2 separate regions of the Homo sapiens genome follow, and region 1 is linked to region 2. The links are contacts of gene promoters, found by promoter capture Hi-C in human tissues and cell types (Jung and others, 2019). All regions are on one chromosome and are shown on one strand. The core of a region is centred on a gene start or on the middle of the fragment in contact, and the rest is flanking DNA. Distances in the headings are between cores, read along the strand shown. Region 1 overlaps R3HCC1L (R3H domain and coiled-coil containing 1 like). Region 2 holds the start of PYROXD2 (pyridine nucleotide-disulphide oxidoreductase domain 2).

The links. The method cuts DNA at HindIII sites, captures the fragments that hold promoters and counts their contacts. A contact is called where the count stands out against the background at its distance.
Region 1: a contact is called between a fragment that was not itself captured here and the fragment with the promoter of PYROXD2 in region 2, in 1 of the 25 tissues and cell types used here (bladder).

The regions. Positions count from the first base shown.
Region 1 is chr10:98,170,535-98,177,373 of GRCh38, reverse strand. The region is part of intron 4 of R3HCC1L (R3H domain and coiled-coil containing 1 like); the gene reads right to left. Among named protein-coding and RNA genes, the nearest start is that of R3HCC1L, 39 kb to the right of the region's middle. RefSeq lists enhancers at 3,606-4,107, 6,723-6,772. The HindIII fragment of the contact is 3,154 bases long and covers 3,222-6,375 here.
Region 2 is chr10:98,409,589-98,416,545 of GRCh38, reverse strand. PYROXD2 (pyridine nucleotide-disulphide oxidoreductase domain 2) reads left to right here and starts at 1,364. Exons shown (of 16, transcript NM_032709.3): 1 at 1,364-1,537; 2 at 5,588-5,607. The coding sequence starts at 1,411. HPS1 (HPS1 biogenesis of lysosomal organelles complex 3 subunit 1) reads left to right here. Exons shown (of 20, transcript NM_000195.5): 20 at 1-348. The HindIII fragment of the contact is 8,881 bases long and covers 1-6,957 here.

The DNA.
Region 1 (6,839 bases), core at 3,549-6,048, 240 kb after region 2:
AAAAGAAAGGATGAGTTCATGTCCTTTGTAGGGACGTGGATAAAGCTGGAAACCATCATTCTGAGCAAACTATTCCAAGGACAGAAAACCAAACACCTTATGTTCTCACTCATAGGTGGGAATTGAACAATGAAAACACTTGGACACAGGAAGGGGAACATCACACACTGGGGCCTGTTGTGGGGTGGGGTGATGGGGGAGGGATAGCATTAGGAGAAATACCTAATGTAAATGATGAGTTAATGGGTGCAGCAAACCAACATAGCACATGTATACATATGTAACAAACCTACACATTGTGCACATGTACCCTAGAACTTAAAGTATAATAAATTAATTAATAAATTAATTTTAAAAAATGTTCAGGCAAAATGTAATTCGCCATAACAAAAGACTAACAAAAATAAAATACATGATTATCTCAATAGATGTACATAAAATATCTGACAAAATTCAACATCCATCCAGTAAACTAGGAATAGGAGAACTTCCTCATCCTGATAAATGTTATCTACAAAAAAAAAGCAGAGCAATAAAAACCTATAGTTTATATTATACTTGATGAAGAACCAAATGCTCTCCCCGTAAGATGCAAAAATAAAGTAAAGATGACCACACTTGTCACTTCTATTTGACATTAAAATGGAGGTTTTAGCCAGTGCAGCAAGGCAGAAAAAAATATAAAAGACATCCAAATTGGAAGAAAGAAGTAATACTGTCTTTATCTGCAGATGACATAATCTTCTGCATAGAAATCCCATAGAATCTCTAAGAAAGCTACCAGAACTAAGTAAGTTTAGCAAGGTTATGAGGATACAAGCAGTTCTATATTCTATCAATGAAAAAAACTGAAAATCGAAGAGTATCATTTACATCAGCACTCAAAAACATGAAATGCTTAGGCATAAATCTAACAGAGTATGTGTACAATCTATGCTGAAAACTAAAATACATTGATAAGACATCAAAAATCGAAAGAAAGATCATAAATGAGATGCCTCAATATTTAAGATATCAATTCTCCCCAAAATGATCTTTAGAATTAAATCAGAATCCAGAAGGACTTTCTACAGAAATTAAGAAGCTGATTTTAAAATGGATATGAAGAGGCATAGGAACTGGAATCGCCAAAGTAACTTTGAAAAGGGATGAAGATGGAGAACTCACACTACCTGATTTCAAGTTTACTATAAAGCTACAATAATCTCAGGTAAGTGTCACATTGGAGAAAGGGTAAACATTTAGATGTATGAAACGCAGTAAGAGTCCAGAAGAAGACTCACACATATATGAACAACTGATTTTCAAGAAATGTATAAAGGAAATTCTATGAAAAAAGAGAGTCTTTCCAAAAAATGGTGCCGAAACAAGTGGAAATTCATTTGCAACAAAAACTGTATCCATACCTCACACCACATATAAAAACTAACAAAATGAATCACAGATCTAAATGTAAACCTACAATTTTAACACTTCTATAAATAAATATAGAACAAAATCTTTGTGATTTTTGGTTTAGCAAAGGTTTCTTAGATACAACATCAAAAGCATGACCCATAAAATAAAATAATTTTTAAATCAATAAACTCGACTTTATCAAAATTCAAACTTCTGCTCTTCAAAGACATGTAAGAGAATTTTAAAAAGCCACAAACCACAAGAAAATATTTGCAAATCACATCTGATAACTTTCATCCAGAATCTCAAAACTCAGTGTCAAAAAAACAACAAAATAATTTAAGAATACTTCACCAAAGAAGATATAAGGATGGCAAAAAAGATGCTCAAAATCATTTATCATTAGAGAAATACAATTCCAGTTACACAACATCCTGGAAAATACAAAACTGTAGAGACAGAAAACATACCACTGGTTGCCAGAAGCTTGGGGTCAGGTAAGGGGCTGACTATAAAGTGACAAGGGAATTTTTTGGATGGATGGAACTGCTCTCTCTGCATTTTAATTGTGTGGGAGTTACACAACTGCATGTTTGTCAAAATTCACAAAATGTACTCTATGAAACGTGAAGTTTGCCATATATAATCTTAAGTTTTTTAATGAAAAAAATGACATCTCTTTAAAATTCCTGCTAAAATACAGCTGACAGCACTGACCCTTTAATTTCTGATTCTTGGCTTTAAAATATGCCTGTCTAGTAGCCAGGAAATAATCAGTATAGCCTTAATGAAGTTATCTGTAAGACTGACGGTTTCTTTCTTAAATCTTGAGGCCATAGTCTTTCCCAATTTAATTCTGCAGTCATTACTTAAAACTTCATTGACTTACTCAACTTTGCACGCGTTAACGATGAGAAACTTGGTCTCCTTTGACTGTCAACTCTATCATCTCTTCCATATATAACCGAACTACACAATCCTTTGCACTGCACTCGGGTAGATACAGAAAACTATATTTTTAATTTGAACGGTTTTATTTTGAACTACAGAGGAAAAGAGGGCTCCGAGAATGCCAAGGTAATCTGGCAATTCCAAATAACATTACGAACATCAATATGTAAGAATTTTTTCTAAAATACATTTTTTTCTAGACTTTCTCACTCAAAACCTTAGATTCACCAGAGCATACAATATATAAACTAGGCTTACCTTGCATTTAAGATTTTCCATGATTTGGTGTCAATCTACAATTTCAATAATACTTCTATCATTCTCAGACACAAAGTCTCCATTCTGGGCAGGATGGCCTCATTGTCTGCTCCTTCCAACTTCTGAAATGCCCTCCTTGATAATGTCTAACGCCCTCCTAAATGAGTTGTGTTTAAACTGAGACATCTCATTGTTGTTATATCACTCTCATTATATACTCCTTTATATTCTTATTCAACTGTTTCATTTATGAATGCCATCTCACACTCTACAAGTTTCTTGAGGGCAGATAGTATCTTTCATATGCTGCTTTTATCCCTGGGAATACAATAAATATTCACAGAAAAATTAATGTAAGAACTGATTTTAAATTACTTTAGATCTTATACTAATTTTAAATTAATTCAATAACTTCCTGGAAGTTTATTTTGTACTTTGAGAAACGGAGGCAACGGGCACTAGAATTTGTTCCCTGAGATCTCAGCCCAATTCATCTTCGTATCTCCAGAGCTGAATACAATGCCCGACACATGAAAAACATTAAAACACTTAAATAGTTAACTAAATTTCACTTTCTAAGGCCACAGAGTAAGAAATGGAATCCTGAAGTTCTAGTCCAATTCTCCCAAGATTGTATTAGTACTTTGAAATGTTCTCTAATTTCTCATATTTGTTCACATATTCTCCCTGAATATACTACAAGTATAGCAAACATAAAAGTTGTTCTATCTCCTCTTTTTAAAGCTCAAAAAGCAACCATTACAGTATTGAGTGCAGGCATAGCAGGTGGGCAATATTCCTATCAGATTTCTTAAAAAGCAACATACACGCAGCTCACAGACACTTCTCTGCCCCATGTAAAAACACGTTAGATACTCTTCCTATTGGGAAGATTTATTTTTCATCATCTTTGGCACAAGTTCTAGAATGCTATCTGCCAGGCCCCATGCCCCAATAAATATGCATCCACAAGCAATTATGGAGATAGATAGCTTATGGGGAGGGGGCACTATTTGGTCAGGTCCCAATGCTAACCTGTGGTTAGGGGGAAAAAAGAGTAGGGGGAGGGGTGTGGCCCTGTGATTAATCACTGCCCACTCTGCTTAGGGGTATTTATCACAGCCCGCTGTCAGGTAAATCACTGGAAAAACACCTCTTCAGTAATTAATGCGAAGTGACGGATGGACAGCCCCTGGGCCCATTAATCAGGAACATCAGCAGCCTACTGAGATTATGAATGTCAGGATGCATAAACTGCCGGTGGATCAATAGGCCCAGGAATTCATCCAAGGCTCTCATTTCCGAAGCATCTCCGGTACATTAGGCTCCCTCTACCCCTCCCCCAGTCTGAAGTGAAAAGCAAGGTTTCAGAACAAAGAGCAGGAGCTGAGGTCTAAAGTGATCAGTGAGAGAAAGCAGTCAAGGAAGCTGGCTATGGCTAGGGATGGTACCAGGACAGGCAACATGAGCACAGAGCTACACTAAGAGGCTCTCTCAGAAGGCTCAATGTTCCTGCAAAAGAACCAGGAAGACATGGTACACAACCAATTATTCAGAGCCTAACTGTCCATTTTAGGGATCATCCATTTTCTTGCTTCGAATTTTTTACCCATTTCCCCATCTACATTTTCTTTCCTTTCATATTAGCACCACCAAAGAGAGAAGAAAGAAATAAGAGAATGAAAATTCCATTTCTGCAACCTAACAATCTAGGTAAAAATTTTGATTTAAGAAAAACAAGAATTTATATAAAATGAAATCAGTAAATTACCTTTACCTCATCCCTAAGTACCACAATGACAGAATTACTGTAAGTACCCAGAGTGTTAAGCAAAAAAATTCCCCACCGAAAGGGTCTGCTCAACTTGTAAAATTTTTAGTCTGGAGCTGAAAGACTATTTCTGTCTACTTGTCATCCCAAGTTTAGTCAAATTTTGTATGGGAAGTAAGCTTGGGCTACAGCCTCATACTGAATACATACTAGGCTGGCAGTGACGGGAAGGAGACTGCACTTGCTGCCACATCCCGCCAAACCCCAGTGCTGTGCTTTGTGGTCAGACTCAGGCCAGGGCTGCAATTGTTGGTTAGAAAGTATTTCAGAGTTACGGCTGCCTGTTCCGCTAAATCTCATTTCATCCTACTGATGGATGGATGGACAGATGGCTGCCTGGTGAAAGCAGCATTATCAGCCAGCTTCTATGGAGCCTCCAGATGATGGATAGCCCTCTTTCTACTTTCTCCAAACCACCATCGATCCAAGCCATATTTCAGCGGTCAGAAGCCCAGTAATATTAAGACACACAATCAAGTTAAGTTACTTGCAGTGTAAACCTCTAGAACAGAAATCCTAACACCTCAGCTTTGCTGTCATGAACCACGCTAAAAATGTTACAGTTTCATTCTTTCTAGCTGCTAACCCAATGAATTCCAACAGCTCAAGCCCAAAGGGAATAGCTGGGCTCCATTCCTAGCAGCTACTTGAAAAGCTAGTTTGCCTGCCAAATTTTTTACTAGCCAGTTCATTTCTGTGAAATGAACTCTGCAGCAGTAGTGAGCGGATCTGTGAATACGTGTATATCCCGTGGAGTGTAAAGCTATTAGAATCATCAAACAACCTAGAGTTTGTCAGTGATATAATCACTAGCCTCAAACATGTGTAGAGCCTTAGACATACCAAATAGACCTTTTCTACCAACACCAAGGATAGCGATTAAAACTAGGACAGATTAAAATTATCTTTTGAACATAATCCTAAAATGTTGTTTCTACCCAGTCAGCCTGACTGGCTTCTACTCTCTTGCATACATATTAAACATAATAGTAAGTACTAATCCTTGCCTGCTTTCACAAGCACACTTCTGAGTCCATTTGCTCTATCACATTCTAGACACTCATCTCAGCTTGTCTACCGTGCCTTTCCTTGTTCCTTCCATCTTATCATCCTGAGCTCTCAGACAGCAACTTGGACTTGTATAATCGAATGTTGTGTCAAAGTTATTTCCACTGGTGTGGCTGGAAGAAATGGATTCTGACTCCAGCTTCATGACATAGGTTCCCAGAACCTACATGCTCTCTTTTGCTAAGCTTACTTATCCCCAAATGACTTCTTCTCATAATGTTTCACTATTAACTATACCCGAAATCAGCTTGGCCTGGCTCCTCCTAGTCTTGGCCCCTCTTGATTGAACCACTGCTATCCTGAGCCTATATTCACAGAGAATTAGTTTGTATTTGTTTATGGGGCCAAAAAAATGCCACGGTGGAGCAGTAACTGTCTTTCTATTTGATGTCATGATAGTTTACTTCTTTAATATCTATGCCTTAACAACATCTAGAGCTCTGTTTCTATCAAAAAAGAACATGCTATTGTTTAAAGATACTACTTTATTAAAGTGTTGTATTAAGAATAGCACTGCCCTTCAAATAAACATTAAAGAATTTTTACAGAGCCTTGGAATTAGACTTACCGAAAGGGATTGTATAGGTCAGAATTCAACATCCTAGTTTTTCAGATAAAGATACTGAGAATTCAAAATTGTAATGTCTGTGGTTACACAGATATTAAGTGGCAATGCAAGACTGGAACCTTGGTTACAATTATAAGGGCTGTGCTCACGCTACTATATTTCTCAGACATTCTGTTTTCATCCTTGGAATTTCAGAGAGAGTGAAGGCAATGAGGGTTAAGTGTTGTGTGCATGCCTATGTGTTTTGGGGAAGGAAGGTGGCCACAAATAATTAAGTGTGGTGACCTATATACTATTGTGCTTCCCATCAAGGTTGCCCATAGGTCATCTGAAAGCTATTCACTATCTTACAGAACAAAATTGGATGAATAGCTGACAATTAGATACCTCTATTCCTTTCTTCTCCTTTCTTTAGTATCTGCCCCAGCCCTACCCAGAAAGTTTTAGAAAGATAATAAGTGAAAGCAGAATCAGAGAGCAAGAGGCTCTATGACTTAACCTAAATGAACAGAGGGTCAATGTGTCCTCTTCATTTCCAAGAATGCCACATTCTGGTCAAATACAGAGCACAACTTCAATGACTGGACTTCACCCTCTGGTGGCCAAAATGTGTCACTACTACATTTCCCAGTTTCTAAGCCACCTGCATACCTATCTTCAAATCTTATAGCTGAAGCCAGGCACAGTGGCTCACGCAGGCAATCCCAGCACTCTGGGAAGCCGAGGTGGGAGTACTGCCTGAGGCCAGGAGTTCAAGACCAGCCT
Region 2 (6,957 bases), core at 115-2,614:
TCCTTGCAGGGAACAGCTTTGGGGCTGGGGGAACTAGAACCCACATGTTGGTCTAAACCCTGAGAAGGTGGCAGTGAGGAAGTATCCCCTCAGGTGACTGGATCTGTGTTCCTCCTTAACATCATCTGATGGAATGGCAATGAAAAGCGTGGATTGTGGAAAATACAGAAAAACATAAAGGAAAAAACTCCAATCCCCTGAGCCCACCACTGTTCAGGACCCCTGCTTTTGTCACCTACTATTTCCCTTTAGTTTTTAGCAGCGGCTGGATGTGATATGTCTAGTTTAACCAGTCCCCTTGATCTTTCTATATAATAAATAACACAGGAGTGAACATCCTGAATCAGATCTTAGCAGAGATGCTCACATGCGGGGTAACTGTCCATGGTGTGTGGAGGGGTCCTCGGAACCCCCTCTTAGGATCATCTCCACATACTCTCCCAGTTCTGAGATTCGTTACCAATAGCAGGTTTCCGTCACACTGCGATATCAGAGCAGTGCAGGAACTCTCCGCTCCAAGGGGTTTTTTCCTCCTAGGGGAACACTCTGCTAAGTAATGGGCAGAGAACAAAGGGGCTCCTAATTCAAGGCAGGCCTAAGGGAGGGTCAGAAAGAACTTTAGCTGGAGGTATTTACAGATGTGACCTCGAATCCTTGGGGATTCTTGGAAAATGGGCAAGGTGCCAAAAGAGGAGAACTGGCCAGGCCTTCAAAACTAAAACACCAGAGAATTACAGACAGCGAACTTGCCCCTAAGCCCTCGTTGTGGGTTTGTGTTTGAGCATTTAGGAGAGGACTCCAGTGCTCCTCAGCGACAGACACAGCTGCCTCTGCGGTGTCTGAAGGCCCTGGTCGTGGTGACGCTAGATGGCCGCCCTGGGCGCCTCCTGTGGGCGTAGAGGCATCACCACTCTGCACTGGCAGACTCAGCATGGAGTTGGAGCAGAGTCTGACACGAGCACTTGCCATCCCAGGCGTTTCAGTTCTGACTGAGAAGGTAGATGCACAGGGGAGGAGAGGGCCCTTTCGAGCTCCACTCTGCCTCCACCACTCATTCCCTAACCCCGCAGCCTCAGCGCCCTCATCTGTAAAATGGGGAGTTTTGCCTACAGGGTTCAGCACAATGCCAGCCTGACATAGGAACCCCAGTGGATTGTCAGTTTTGCCATTATCCCCTGCATCCTGGAGGTGACACCGCCTGGTTAATAGGCAACACTCCCGACGGCCCAGCACAGCCCCAGGGCAGCAGGAGGCTGGCCTGTGGCCAAGAATGCATGGTGGAGGGGGCCTGGAGGGGGACTGCAGCTCCTCCTCTTCCTGCTTCCTCCCTGCTCCACCCCGTGCCTAGGGCAGCACAAAAGCCAATCGCTAGCAAACTCCCTGCCTAGCAAGGCCCAGCCTGGGGCAGAAATGGCTGCAAGTGGCCGAGGTCTCTGCAAGGCTGTGGCCGCCTCTCCCTTCCCGGCGTGGAGACGAGATAACACGGAAGCCAGGGGAGGTCTGAAGCCTGAGTATGATGCGGTGGTGATAGGAGCAGGTAAAGTGGTAAAGCAGGCCGGGCCAGAGCTGAGGGGCGGGAAGACAGCCCTGCTCAGAGCTTGGTGGGGAGGGGGAGGGGGAGCCAAGCCCCACTGCTCTCTCCTCTGGCATAACCCAGCCAGAAGTTTATACGCTAGCAGGGGCTGCAATGGAAAGCCCTTCCATCTGGCAGGCAGGCACCTGGGATTCCGGTGCTGGCTCTGCTGTGTGGCCTGGGGCAAATGCTTGCCTTCTCTGGGCTTGGATCTTCCCATGGAGAATGACAGGAAGACTAGGTGAGCTCAGGGGTTTCCCTATATCTCTTGCAAAGTGACCTAGTTTCCACCACATTCTCAGCCTATGGTTTGTAAGGGTTGGAAAGAGCCCTGGGCCAACAGACAAGTGAAATCCAGCACCCCGCCCCCTCAGTGCCCTGAGTTCTGGTCACCACTACCTTACCACTGAGGCCACCCCTCGTCACAAGAAACTGCAGTCATTTCATAAAGGCCAGTTAGGATAAAACAGAACTGAGTCCCAGAGTTCCTACTGCGTGTCTGCAGAGGGAGATGGACCCCATTGCCTTGCAGCTCTGGGACATTTGGGGATCTGCAGTGATCTGCCACACTTTGCCAACCCCTGGGCTCAGAGTATCACAGTCTACTGGGTGCTAGGGGAAGAGGCAGGCCCAGGACCAGGTGGTCTTTCCTTAGTGCCTTCCTTTCACACTTGCAGAGGGCCCCAAATGCATGATTGCCAACTGGGTCTATACAGAGATAATGACGGGACCGAAAGCAGACGGCACTCAACATGCAGCTTTGAGGGCATGCCTTCATTTTCATATGTACTAGAGCAGTTGCGAGCTGGTAGATACTCAACACTCACCTCTCCAGGGAAAAATGTGTGATGTATGTGTGTGTGTACATGTATATATATGTATATATACACACATATATGTGTATATATATGTATATGTGTTACGTACATATATATACACATATACACATGCTTATTTTAAATATTGAAATAAAAGATACACTGCACACAATTTTACAAATAAAGATACAATACTCTCAATTTAAATGCAGTCTACCCGAGTGATTCTTACCAAAGGCTTTCTTTGATTTTTGCCAAACTCAGTAGCCAACCTATAGTTGCAAATGACAAATGAGGGTAGCTCCAAAGAGAACGGTGCTCCATATTTTCTGTAAAGAGTAGGATGATCGTGAAACAAATGAAACAACAAAGATTTATGTCCCAACCTTACTCCTTTATTTTTTAAAATTTATTTTTATTTTATTTATTTATTCATTTATTGAGATGGAGTCTTGCTCTGTTGCCCAGGCTGGAGTGCAGCGGCGCAATCTCGGCTCACTGCAACCTCCGCCTCCTGGGTTCAAGCGATTCTCTTGCCTCAGCCTCCCGAGTAGCTGGGACTACAGGCGCCCACCACCACGCCCGGCTAATTTTTGTATTTTTAGTAGAGACGGGGTTTCACCATGTTGGCGAGGCTGATCTCAAACTCCTGGCCTTGTGATCCACCTGCCTCAGCCTCCCAAAGGGCTGGGATTACAGGTGTGAGCCACTGCGCCCGGCCTCCTTCTTTAAATGACAGGAATGATGTTACTCAAATAAGATAATATTGTTCTAATACTAGAATATTTCCTTCAATTTTTGTGCTATTTATTCATGCTATAACAGCTAACACTGTTAGGTTTAATCTGCATTATTAGCATTTTCCCATCACTTTCTTAAGCCTGACCACAAAAAATAAATTCAGCCCTTCTGTGTAATATTTGCTGATGACAGTGGTGTAAATACTCCCACCATAGCCTTTTCTGTTACCAAGATGAGGTTGCTCAATGTGATTTAGGAGAGATACCCAGTAGCACATCATTGTATAGTGTGTCCACCATGCAGATATGTACATAGAGGCCAGTGACTGCCAGGGCATGGGCAACAGTCAAATGTAGTAAAACAAATAGGAGGTAGTGTGTTTTGAGTATTTATTACCTTTGTTTTTAATTTATTTAATTGTAAGCTTATATAATTTAGTTTATATCAATGGCTGTTTGACAGCCGGCTCACAAACTCCCCGGGCTGGTGGGAGCCATCTCCAGCACCTCACTTAGCCTCAGAGAAGCCCCCTGCCTCCTTCCGTGCTCAGCCACAGCTCACCCTGCTGTCTCCTAATGGGGAAGGTTGACTTTAGGTCACCAGCTGCCTTGGTGACTTGCCTACAAGTGCGAGTGAGTCTCAGTGTGTGAGCTTTTCCTTGACATGATTTCTTTAGTTGCTAAACATACCATAAAGCCTGGTTTAAAGGCATCTTGGGCCTCAGTGAGGAACAGAACGGCATCTTCTGAGACAAGGGTTACCTCTGAGTCCCTGAAGGCACACTGGCACCTGGCCGCCACCTTGAAGATGAATCTCATTTAGTCATTTGACTAAATGTGCCTGAGAGTGACTGAGGGGGCTTGTTAAAATGGAGATTCCTGGCCCCATACCTGGTGACGAGCATTCTGAGGGCGGGAGGTGTCTCCCAGAGGTCAGCACATCCACCCAACCAACACTGCCTGATGCAGGCAGCTGCAGAGCCCACGCCCAGAGCAGCTCCTCAAGGGCCCAGGCGCCTGCTATGGGGCCCCTGAGGCAGGTCTGGGGATTAGCAGAGCCCGCAGCTGAAGTCCTCTTCAAGGGAACAGAGGTGTCACCAGAAGCCAAGGAGGGCTCAGCCAGGACTTGAGGGTGGTCACTGGGAGGGGGTCTTGTGCTTTGGATCCTTGACCTTACTCATTTGAGGTCTGCCATGATTGAACTGGACCCAGTTGCCTGGAAGACTATGAGTTTTCCAAGATCGATCATCAGCACCAATTAAAAGACAAATAGCTCCCATTTATCTCATCCTTGCCACACTGCAGGGTCCCTGGCACCCTCTGTTCCCCATGTGAAGAAACTCAAGGCTCAGGGCAGCTGATGACTCTCTGAGGTCATGCCCTGGCAAATAGCAGAGGCTGGGCTGAGCCCAGGACTGTCTGCCTTTAGTTTGCTGCATGTCTTTGAGAGACAGATTCCATCTGTTCATGAGTCCCACTGGCGGATTGTTTAAACTTTCTTATGAACATTTTCAAAAGCCCATACAAATAAAGAGTATGTCAACCAGCACTTTTTAAGATGAACTGTAACCAACTAGCTTCTCACATGCTTCTCATATGGTAAGAGTTAATTTTAGCTCATGAAACTTTTGGTTCTGTGAAACACCTGCTGAACAGACTCCTGGGAAGGGGGTCTGTGGGAGTCGACATTTATACAACCTTCCAGGTGATTCTGAGCTTATCAGAGCTGGAGAGGCACTTGCTACCCAGGGGCTTGGTGTGGAACGTGAGATGCCAAAGCCAAATTCAGGCCTCTCAGCTCAAGGCACCCTGAAGCACAGCTAGTCACTCCAGCACATGTTGAAGCTGTGCATGTTTACTTCATGTTGAACTGTTCATGTTTTATTTTTGGAACACTGGGGATTGGCAAAAAAAAAAAAAACCCATGTGAATAAAGCCTTCTAGGGCACCACTGTGCCGATTGTGAACCACACGTGGACAAAACAAGCCGCGCTTGATAGCAACTACCTACATGACCAGCACTCCCCTGGATGCTGATGCTGCCATGCGAGACGGGACGTTGGCGCAGCAGCATGCCAGCCACCCATTGCTTCTCCTGCTTGCCAACTCAACCGTGCTGCTCCCTCAGACACCATCACTTGCGCCTCCCAAGCAATGGAAGCCCTGGCGATGCTCTCATGAGCCCCTCACTCCAGCAGAGCCCCTGACCAAGCCAGGGGAGCAGGACTTTTCCAGCCAAGGCAAGAACCAGGGTTTTCTGACTCCTTGAAGATCTGGTGTTTCATGGAGTTGAACTAGATGCTGTTCCAACATCTGAGTGCGGGAAGGGGAGGGGAGGGTCACCAAGGATCTTCATGGCATGGGGACGGGCAGCGGGGAGCACATTCCTCAAGGACTGTCTGTCTGCCCGCCCGCTGACCAGTGATGTTTTCCTTCCCTGTCCCGTTTTGTTGCAGGACACAACGGACTGGTGGCTGTGAGTACCTCCCCACTTGATCCCACTTCACTGGCCCTGGGCGTGTGGCTCTCAGCAGCCTGGGAAGGAGTGTGAAGAAGCAGGTGGGATAAGGGCCTTGAGAGAGAAGGAAAAGGCAGCCTAGTCGATGCTCTCTGCTCTCCAGTGCTGACTGGGGGCTGGGTCGAATGCTCATCTGCAGCCAGCTGTGGACATCACAGGCTCCTTTCCTCCCCTTCCCCTAATGGGGAAAGGTGGTTTCCCCATGGCCTGTGAGGGAGTCAGGGAGCTTCCAGAAACAAGCTGACAAGGTGGGGAAGCATGTAACCAACACAGCATGAGAGCAGGTGGGAACCAGGGGATTGGGCACCTGGGGCGGGGTGGGGGCCCTTGACTCCAGATCATAGGCAGCCCTTGTGTCTAGAGCCCTGTGTTCCCAGCCAGGTCCAGGCCAGGTACCACCTTGGAGTACATAGCTGCTATGTGGCCAAAGTGTGCCCTGGAGACATTGAGGAGCTCAGTCTAGCAGAAGGGCCTGTGCCCTGTCCCCAACACAACTGACTTCAAGATCCCAAACTGAGCTGGATATCCCAGAGCTATCCTTAGCTTATGCTTCTGTAACCTGAGTCCAGATACCTCCAGGAGGCCACAGAAGGCATTCAAGGCCACAAAACAAATGTGGAACATCTTCTTGAAGCAGCAGCAGCTCTAGAACATCAATATAGGGGGAAACTGTGGCTGTGCTAACGGACTGATGTTAAACCTTAATACTTTGCCTGATGTCTAAGTTTTACTTGAACATTTTACGTGCGGCATTTTGTAACTCAATGGATCAGTAATTTAAAACATTTATTTTATTTTATTTTATTTTAATTTTTTTTGAGACGGAGTTTTGCTCTTGTCACCCAGGCTGGAGTGCAATGGCATGATCTCGGCTCGCTGCAACCTCTACTTCCCGGGTTCAAGCAATTCTCCTGCCTCAATCTCCTGAGTAGCTGGGATTGCAGGCAGCCGCCATCATGCCTGGCTAACTTTTGTATTTTTAGTAGAGACGGGGTTTCGCCATGTTGGCCAGGCTGATCTCGAACTCCTGATCTCAGGTGACCCGCCTGCCTCAGCCTCTGAAAGTGCTGAGATTACAGGCGTGAACCACCACGCCCGGCCTGATTTTATATTAATATAAACAAAGATTCATCTCCCAGCTCTGCCACTTTGTGAAGGTTAAGGTGTCACTTAGCCTCTCCGAGTCACGGTAAAATGGAACAATGGCACCTGCCCTCACAGAGCTGCTGTGAAGGTAATAGATCATTTGCTGCTAGGACCTGGCACATGCAGCCTTGCCCAAATGGTGGCTGTTATTACTGGAAGTTT